Linked DNA regions of Homo sapiens: regions 2 and 3 are each linked to region 1. Evidence: promoter capture Hi-C in 16 types of primary human blood cells and fetal thymus (Javierre and others, 2016). All regions are on one chromosome and are shown on one strand. Each heading gives the region's core, a stretch centred on a gene start or on the middle of the fragment in contact. The rest is flanking DNA. Distances are from core to core; before and after follow the strand shown. Region 1 holds the start of SULF2 (sulfatase 2). Region 2 has its middle 180 kb from the start of LINC01522. Region 3 holds the start of LOC124904924 (a long non-coding RNA gene).

Region 1 (3,227 bases), core at 728-3,227:
TGCACGTGCATGCACACACACTGCTATGCTGTCCTCCTCCAAGACCAGACTTTTACAGTCAACTCATCACTCTACTCTCAAGTTTGAAAATTTAACATGTTATTAGGGTTTCAGAAAAAGCCATAAATTCAAATAAAAAACCCAAGAAGTACACACAAAGCCCAAACCCCAAACCCACATTGACCCTCAGCTGCAGCAGTGATGCCAACATCACGGCCTTTATGTATATAAATTTAGCTGGGGAAGGAAGAGGCCTTCATGTACAAAGGTCCAACATGCCATCTGCCAAGCCCACCACCTTCGCCTTTCAAGCTGCTTATTAGAACGCTAAATTACACATCCGACAGGCTGTCTGGATGAGTTTTCTCTTCTCTATGATGTGGGAGAGACGAAGCTGGGGAGAACATCTCTTACAGGGAAGGGGCCCCCTTCGTTCTGTCCTCCCTACCCCGTTCCTATACTTAACGATTGGCTCTAATTTAATTAGAACCCTCTGGTGGTTCTGTAATGGGAGGCAGAGGCTGTCAAGAAATCACCTTCACTATTCACTACAAGCTGAAATTTGGAGAGCGCGCAGATCCGGGGGTGTCCTCCAGAGAAAGCCCGTCTCTCCTGCTCCCTGTCTCCCCCTGAGAACCTGCTCCAGCGCAGCCTCCCCTTCTCTGCCCCAAAAGTGGGGGTGGACCCGGTGGGAAACAGGCAGGGGACAGATGGAGGGGCGAGAGGGCGGGTGTCCCAACACGCACAGATGAGCAAATACCCAGATTGAAACGTAAGCTGAATGTAATTACTTGGTTAATTAAATATTGACTTTTAACTCAAAAAGTGATTAAAACAAGCTGCAGGAAGACTTTCCAGAAAGGGGGGCAGGGAATGAATCAAAGCTTTCAAGGGGGAGGAGGAGGAGGAGAGGGTCGTCACAGGCAGGTCTGGCTTGCTCTTCCTACTGTGTGCTGGGCCTACTGCGTGCAGGTGGGGGAGTTGCGGACCGAGGCCAGTGTGCAAACTAGGATTGCAGGCTTCCCTTTCCATCTTCCACCCCGAGACGGCATCTCTCTACCCTGCTGCCCTCCCAGTGAACCGGCAGCTTCTGGCGCGCAGGAGCCAGATCCTGTTCAGCCGCGTTTCCCTGGAACAGAACGCGGTGCCCGGCACGAGGGGGTGCTCCAGAAATGCTTGTAGAACGAATGAACGAACTACTATAAGGAATGTTTGGAAAAGTGCACTCCTAGAATTCACCGCTAGACTTCTGAAACCCCGAGGAGCCGGGGAGGGGAGCATCCCTCCGCCAGGCGATGGAAACTCGTTCTGCCCTGGCCTGGGAGGAAGTCTGCCTTTTCGATCCTGTTTGTCCTTTCGGTGTCTGCGAGTTTCCAACCACTCTGAAGATCCGGCCCACTGCTTCCCCGAGTCCTGCCCGGACAAGCCCCACGTGGGCTGGCATCTACCGGTCCCTTGGGTCTAAACCCTAAGGGTCAACAAGGCCATGCCCCTGCGGATGGCCGGCCCAGGCGCGCTCCCCTACCCGGGGCCGCCTGTGCTCGGTGTGCCGTGTCCGCGGGTCAGGGGCGCGGCGGGAAGTCCTCGCCCGCCCGCCAGCCAGCGGGGTCAAACAGGTCATCCCTCTGCGGACGGCCGGCGCCGGAGCCTCCCTCCCGCCCGCCCGGACCCACCTCCGCAAGCAGCGCTGGGGCTGGAGCCGGGCGGTCCGGACCAGCCCCGGCTCACCTGGGCGGCGCTCGCGGCCGGGCTCACGCCGGGGAAGGCTCCGGCCGCCGCGAGCCCCCGCCCGAGCCCCGCGTCCCCCAGCCACCCACCTGCCCCCCACGCCCCACTCACCAGCGCGCACGGCCCCGGCAACCTCACCCGGAGCGGGGCGCCGCCGCCGCCTCTGCCGCAGCCCGGCCGGGCCGCTGGGCGCAGGGGACTCCGCGCCGCCGCTGCCGCTGCCGCCGCCGCCGCCGCCGCTGCCGCTGCTGCATCCCCCGGCGAGCGCTGCTGCTCCTCCTCCTGCCTCCTCCCCGCCCCCCAACGCCGCCGCCACCGCCCCCGGCCCCCTCCCCGCGCGCCGCCCCAGCCAAAGTCCGGCTCCGCACCCCGCCCGGACCGCTCTTAAATCGCCCCAGCCCGGCCGGCCACGCTGCCCCAGCCAGCCCCTTGGCACGGCGCTACCGCCCCCCGCTCGCCTGCCCGCCGGCCTCCACGCAGGGGAGGCGGGCGCGCTCCGGGGCGGGGAGCGTCGGGCCGGGAGCCGCGGACGGCTGGGGCCCGGGGCGCGGGGGGCCCAGCCGCGGTGCCCTCCTCGAGCCCTCCGCGCGCTAGCGCTTTTACCTCCGGCCTGGGGGACGCGCGGCCCGCGACCCGGCCCTGCCTGTCCCCGGCGCACGGCCCCGGCCCCGGCCCCGAAGTCCAGCTCCGGACGGGGCAGTGAACGCAGAGCTGGGGTCCCGGCGGCTCTCGACCTCCCGATGCCTCCGGACTCGGCTGGCCGCGCTCCCGGCGCCGAGCGCGCACCCTCGCCGGGACACACAGACGCACACTCACTCGACACACTCTCGCTCCTGCTCGCCCTCGGCGGAGAGTTGAAACAGATGTGGGATTCGCCCAGGAGCTGGAAACGAGGGAGGGAAGCGAGCCAGAGCCTTGTGTGCACGTGTGTGTGCGTAACACACAAACCAGGGGGCATCGCTAATAAATCAAATATCGTGATAAATTCAGGAGGGCCATCGATCAGGTCCACTTGGCTGGAAACGACGTGAATCTGCCTCTTTTCCGCTTTCTTCTTCTCCTCTCTCGGAGCTGGAGGGAGCCAAATGTTCCGCGGGGAGTGCGACAGCCCCGGCCGGGCGCTCCCCTCGTAATGACACGTTAATAAATGTTTTCTTTTATCTGCTTTCACAGGACTCGCCCCGGTCTGCAAACACTCGACTGCCTTTGCCGAAAGCCTCGCGCTCGCCTCCAGCCACACACATTTGCCATTGGAGAGGCCGGCGCCGGCCGCGACCCGCAGCTCAATCGCAGGGCAAACCGAGCTGCCTGTGCGCGCCCGAGAACTCCCCGAGAAATTAACTTCGGCTCAAGTGAAAATAGCAGCTGTTGTCCAGAAATGGCCCGGGAGTAGCATAGAAAGGAGAAACCGGCTTCCTCCGAAAGGGGAGGAATTGGACTCAAGGGGGTGCTGTCTACCGTGGTTTCCGCTGTCCCTCGCGCCACAGAAGAGGCCGGAG
Region 2 (3,383 bases), core at 441-2,940, 380 kb after region 1:
GCAGCCTCATTCTTCCTTGCACTGCTGATGTTTTGCTTTGGGGTGAGTCCACCATGAGGTGCTTATCCATTCTGCTGCTGATGGCTGCCGGAGTCATCAGCAGGGCACAGGGACTGTTCCCCATGCCGCTTCGGTGGACGACTTGGACATGTGTCCCACCGCACATGTAAAATGCATTTCTGCTGGGGATATACCAAGTGTGCAATTGCTAGGGCCAGAGGGTCTTCACATCTTCATCTCCAGTAGACAATGCCAAACTTTCCAAAGGGTTGGCGTCAGTGTCTATGGCCCCCAGCATCATGCGTGGTAGCTCCGTGTTCTTGCTGGCACTTGGTACTGTGGGAACGTCACACTCCTGCTTGGTTGCCTGCCCCTGGCCAGAGGCTGGCCCTTTATCGGAGGAGGCCAGTGCACAGCAAGAGCCTCCAAAGCAGAGTGGGGACCATTCACACCTGGACATGACTCCTATCTGTCCTGCAGGCAATGACTCCAGATGGCAAAGGGAAACAGACCCTGGAGCTCATGTCCCAGCTGCCCCTCTTGGCAGCTCTGTTATTTCAGGTGATGTCAGTAGCCTCCTGAGCCTCATATTATTGGATATTGAATGTGGGTAATAACGTGGATCTCACTGGGCTGTCGTGAGCATTAATGAGTTAATGCCTGCAAAGGATTTAGATGTGGCAGGCCCACAGTGAGTGCTCAATAGCTGACAGCCAGAACTGAAGCCATCCCACGGTTCCCTCCCCCAGGCCCCCAGCGCACAGTGAGGATTATGTTGGATCCTGAGGATGGAGTATGAGACAAAAATGGCACAAGAGCACCATTGCCCGTTGAGTTTGGTATATCTGGACGCATCATTTTTTTGGTGAGTCTGACATAGCATTTCCCTCCAGCGCTGAGACACGGCATCCATTTTTTCTAGTTGAGTCCTGGATGAACGAGTTGGCTGACTTTAGGGGCCAGTCATATGGTAGGAAAAATTGTCTGTCTTTAAAGAGCACAGTTGCATTTGCCTGGGTGAGATGTTCAGGCAGGAGCAGAGCAGGGAAGAGCACAGAGTCTGGGAGGCTGGGTGTGGGCTCCCATTCCATGCTTGTGTGGGGCCCAGCGCTTGGAGAGCAGCTGAGATGGCCGGTGCTGTGTACACACAGATGAAATTGCCTAGGATTAAAGTGCAGCTGAAGACTTCATTGTCTTGAAGACAAGGTCGGGGGTCCAGGAAACAGCATTGGATATATTGTAGCCCATCCAGAATTGGGCCTTTTAAAATTCATTTTCAACCTTCTGATTGTATCAAGGAGAAAGTTTCAAGTTCCTTATAGGGAGTCCTTAAGCACTAATGAGTGCTAATCTCTCTCTATTTTATTTTATCTTATTTTATTTTATTTTGAGACAAGGTCTCACTCTGTCACACAGGTTGAAGTGTGATGGCATGATCTCAGCTCACTGCAGCCTGGAACTCCTGGGCTCAAGCAAACCTCTTACCTCAGCCTCCCAAGAAGCTGGGACTACAGGCTAGTGCCAACACACTCCACTCATTTATTTTTTGTAGAGATGGGGTCTTGCTATGTTGCCCAGGCTGGTCTCAAACTCCTGGTCTCAAGCAATCCTCCTGCTTTGGCCTCCCAAGGTGCTGGGATTATAGACAGGAGGCTCTGTGCACAGTCAAAAATCTTTTTTTTTTTTTTAGATGGAGTCTCACTCTGTCACCCAGGCTGGAGTGCAGTGGTGCAATCTCAGCTCATTGCAACTTCCGCCTCCTGGGTTTAAGCAATTCTCCTGCCTCAGCCTCCCGAGTAGCTTGGATTACAGGCATCTGCCACCCTGCCTGGCTAATTTTTGTATTTTTAGTAGAGATAGGGTTTCACCATGTTGGCCAGGCTGGTCTTGAACTCCTGACCTCAAGTGATCTGCCGGCCTCAGCCTCCCAAAATGCTGGGATTACAGGTGTGAGCCACCGTGCTGAGCCAAAAATCTCTCTTTTGAAAAAAAGGAAATCCAGCCCCACAGACAGCCTCCAGGGCTCTGTATCTTCCCAGAATGTACACATCGTGTTTGTTTTTTACGTTTAGGATTCTTGGCTCTTTCTTCTGGCCAGCACTGGTGAGCTGGTGGCCGAGTATCCTACCTGGGGCACGAGCCTCTGCAGCTACTCTAAAGGTGAAATCTTACAGAGTCAAAATCGGCCTTGAAAACCCTGTAAATATCCTGTAGGACAGTGCCCATGACTCTGTGGATTTACCCTGTGCATCCGTTGCATGTGCATCCGCACCGCAGACGCAGGAGTGCTCAGCGTCTAACAGAGTGTACGTGCCAAGTCACATGACGGTGCTTCTTAATAACATCTTTATTGCCATATAACCCACACACCATAAAAATCCATCCTTTTGGAAACAATTCCCTCTTCTGCCTCAGGATGCACGCCTTGTGCACGGGCTTTAGAGGTTTTAGTAGAAGCACAAAGTTATGAAACCATCGCCACGATCTAATTCCAGAGCGTTTTCATCATTCCCCAAATAAGCCTCACACCTGCTAGCTGTCAGGGCTCTTCACTCTTCACCATCACTAATCTACTCCTGTCTCTAGGGATGTGCTTATCCTGGACATTTCATATAAATGGAATCACACAAACATACAAAATGTGGCCTGTTTTTTTGTTTGTTTGTTTGTTTGTTTTTCAGAAATGGGTCTTGTTCTGTTGTTCAGGCTGGAGTACAGTGGCACAATCATAGTTCACTGCAACTTCGAACTCCTGGGCTCAAGGCATCCTCCTGCCTCAGCCTCCCCAGTAGCTAAGACTACAGGTGTGCACCACTACATCTGGCTAATTTTAAAAAACGTTGTAGAGACAGATTCTTACTATGTCGGCCAGGCAGGTCTCAAACTCCTGGGGTCAAGCAATCCTCCCACCTTGGCCTCCCAAAGCGGTGAGATTACAGGTGCGAGCTACTGTGCCCTGCCTGGCTTTTTTGAATTGCGTATTTTTAAGATTTTTCCATGCTGTGGCATGTATCAATATTTCATTCATTTTTATGTCCAAATACTATTGCATTGTACAGGTATTCCACATTTTGTTCATCTATTCATTATGTGATGATGTATTTGAAGGAGAGAGAGAAGCAAAAAGAGACGGAGACAGAAAGAGTCAGAGGCAGAGAGACAGAGATAGGCAGAGAGAGAGAGAGAACCCAGGGAATCCTGACACTGGAATTGGTAGGGTCAAGAGCATGTCTGGGGTACCACAGTATCCAAATGGGAACCTGGGTCAGAGCACCAGGCTTCTTGCCCTCACTTGCTGTGTGACTCCAGGCCAACCCCTTACCCTCTCTGAGTATCAATTTGCTGATAGAGAAGAAGGCTGTGGATCCCCGGAAACATCTCTA
Region 3 (3,097 bases), core at 505-3,004, 490 kb after region 1:
AGCATATGTTGAACCTATGCATTTGTTTGTTTATTTATCTATTTACTGGTCTGTTTATGGTCTCCTCTACCAAAATGGTCATACCATGAAGGCAGGAACCATGAATGGCTGCCTCATTAAATTCCATATCCCCAGCACCTACAACAATGCCTAACATCTGAGGGCTCAAAAACTGTGTTGAATAACTAAGAGAATTAATTAATTAATAAATGAATGAATGCACTCTGGGTTTGAGAAGAGGATTTTTTTTTTTAACTACTGCCCTTGGTATCTGTGAAGCACAATTTGAAAGCTCAGTAATTTGTCAGTTGTCACAAACCCAACTCAGTGGTAGTAATTCTTACATTCATGTATATTAACAATAAGTACTTATTCCTACATTCAGGTCCATAGGTCAAGCACGACTTGGCGGATCCAGGCTGGGCTCTGCTGGGCATGGCTGCAGGCTGTGGGTTGGGATCAGGTCTGCTCCATATGTGTTTATCTTGGGCATAGTCTAAAGGGAGAGCAGCTCCTCTCTGGACACACTCCTCATGGTGGATCCCTGGGGACAAGAGCAAGCAAGCTTCATGAGCACATTTAATGACTTTAGTCTCGTCACTTCCTCTGACACTCTGACCATCCTTGGTCAAAGCAAGTCACACAGCCAAACCCACATCAATGGACCAGGAAGGCCCATTATCTGCTGAACAATAACTCAAACTATCACTAAACTTATGACCACGAACAGTGATTCAAGAAACCAAAGTTTAATGCAGGATTGTTTGTGATCTAAGAGGCTGTCTGAACAGGGATGGCTGAGATTATTAGAGAGAGAAAGAGAGAGAGAGAGAGAAATTCTTGTATCTGAATTACTCTGAAGGAAAGGCTCTGCTGCTGGCAGTTAATGCAAACACACCCACAGCCACTGCCAGAAGCCTCCAGTCTCAATGTGATGACATAGTGAGCAAAGGAGCCTGGGGGTTTCTAGCCCAATTCAGTGCTGGGAAGCAAGAGCTCACTCACTCTCCCATCCCCCTTTCCCACTACCCACCCCTCCCCTCCTGCCAGCAAATGGAGGCAGCACATTTTCACTCCAATTTCCACTTAAAGCTGCAGCTGCTGTCGCCGCCTGGGAACCCCTATCTTTTTACATGTTATTGTGGATCAGTTGCCCGCTGCTGCAATAAAGAACTCTCAGTGGGTTGCCTGGAATTTCTAACTCAGTGCCACAGAAAACCTGGTGGATAAGGAAACAAGAGGCTGCGCTTCAGTGGTGGTAAGTGCTAGACTTAAGCAGGCAACCCTGGGTCCTAGCCTCTTCTGGTCAGTCCTCTCCCAGACATCAGCTCCAGGAGGGAATCTGCTTCCTCAGCCATGAGGGCAATGAGGACCCTCACCATAGCTATCTATATGGGATCCTCCAGCATCCTTTAGCCTCGATGGCAAAACACTCACTGGCTGTTTTCAGTAAGTTTTAGATTCCCAATATTGTTCTTGCAATCGTGGGGTGGAGGACAGAAGGGTGGATGGTCAGGTATTAGATCGATCAAATCAAATTGCAGTACTCAGACCCTGGGGGTACACAATGACTTTCTAAGGGTTCACAGGCAACAGGCCATTTTGAGAGAATCACTTTTCAGATTCTCAACTGACATGGGTACTCTGTGGGCTCTTCATTTCCACATCCTCTTTTGGTAACACTCTTCTCCCACTTTATAAAACAAAGATTGATCAGTCAATGTTCTGGCAGGAGACAGATAGCGTACTTACATTGGCTAATTGGAGGAAAGTTTCATAAAGGTATTATTTAAAACTTGTGATCCGGATGAAGGGAAATAGCAAACAATAGTGCCAGGCCCTGGCTAGTAACAGTGGGGCCCTGGGGAGGGTGAGGGGAAAGAGCCTTCTGGAATCTGCAGACAAAAGGAGACTCTAGGCGGGGGCTGTCAGACAGGAGCTGTGACCTTCTGCAGTGGAGGCAGGCAGCCTGGGCTCCCCCACAGTAGGGATAAAGAACCCCTACCTCACTCATCTCTCAGTCTACCATCTCTGCCTGTTCTCGCTATCCCATGGCAAAACCCAACTGTTACAGGAAAGGGGTCCCGGTCCAGACCCCAAGAGAGGGTTCTTGGATCTTGCACAAGAAAGAATTCAGGGTGAGTCCATACAGTGAAGTGAAAGCAAGTTTATTAGGAAAGTAAAGGAATAAAAGAACGGCTACTTCATAGAGCAAACCTGAGGGTGGCTGGCTGCCCATTTTTAGGGTTATTTCTTGGTGATATGCTAAACAAGGGGTGGATTATTCATGCCTCCCCTTTTTAGACCATACAGGGTAACCTCCTGACATTGCCATGGCATTTGTAAACCATCCTTGTGCTGATGGGAGTGTAGCAGTGAGGATGACCAGAGGTCACTCTCATGGCCATCTTGGTTTTGGTGGGTTTTGGCAGCCTTCTTTACTGCAACCTGTTTTATCAGCAAGGTCTTTATAGACTTGTAGATACAGGCCAACTTCCTCTCTCATCTTGTGACTTAGAATGCCTAATTGTCTGGGAATGCAGCCCAGTAGGTCTTAGCCTTATTTTACCCAGCCCCTACTCAAGATGGAGTTGCTCTGGTTCACACGCCTCTGACACAACCACAAGCCAGAAAGCAAGGGAGCTCATTTTGATGGAAGGCATTCAAACAATTGCATAACATGTAACAGAAGCTCTTTAATCTCCATCTGTTTATTTACGTGAACAAGATTCACCCTGCTTACAGCAACAAAATCAAAATTTTTTCAAAAGGGGGATAATGTTGAGGCCGAAACCTGTCTCCTTATGATAGTAAGCAACAGTCATCCACGAATACATGAATTAATTGAGAAAACAGCCCCACGGCTGTTATGTTTCTCTGATCAATGGTGCACTACTCACTATCGTTAATGATAACTAAATTCAGAATCACATGTTTAACATTTAAAGCTTTACAGGAACAGAACTCTGGATATTATCCGTTTTTAATTTATACATGTTTTTGTTGCAGTATGATCAATACAAGACTTCCAAGCATAAAAGTAAGATACACTCCCATCAAAGTTGGCTAGAGGAGTAGAAGTTCTAGGAGAAAAAGG

The links. The method cuts DNA at HindIII sites, captures the fragments that hold promoters and counts their contacts. A CHiCAGO score of 5 or more calls a contact.
Region 2: a contact is called between a fragment that was not itself captured here and the fragment with the promoter of SULF2 in region 1, in 1 of 17 cell types (endothelial precursors). The highest score is 5.0, in endothelial precursors.
Region 3: a contact is called between a fragment that was not itself captured here and the fragment with the promoter of SULF2 in region 1, in 1 of 17 cell types (endothelial precursors). The highest score is 11.3, in endothelial precursors.

The regions. Positions count from the first base shown.
Region 1 is chr20:47,783,504-47,786,730 of GRCh38, forward strand. SULF2 (sulfatase 2) reads right to left here and starts at 1,978. Exons shown (of 21, transcript NM_001387048.1): 1 at 1,840-1,978. LOC124904920 (a long non-coding RNA gene) reads left to right here and starts at 2,251. Exons shown (of 2, transcript XR_007067618.1): 1 at 2,251-2,659; 2 at 2,902-3,227. RefSeq lists an enhancer at 3,096-3,227. The HindIII fragment of the contact is 4,753 bases long and covers 883-3,227 here.
Region 2 is chr20:48,167,541-48,170,923 of GRCh38, forward strand. No RefSeq gene overlaps it. Among named protein-coding and RNA genes, the nearest start is that of LINC01522, 180 kb to the left of the region's middle. The HindIII fragment of the contact is 3,508 bases long and covers 1-3,383 here.
Region 3 is chr20:48,274,899-48,277,995 of GRCh38, forward strand. LOC124904924 (a long non-coding RNA gene) reads left to right here and starts at 949. Exons shown (of 2, transcript XR_007067634.1): 1 at 949-1,258. The HindIII fragment of the contact is 2,383 bases long and covers 564-2,946 here.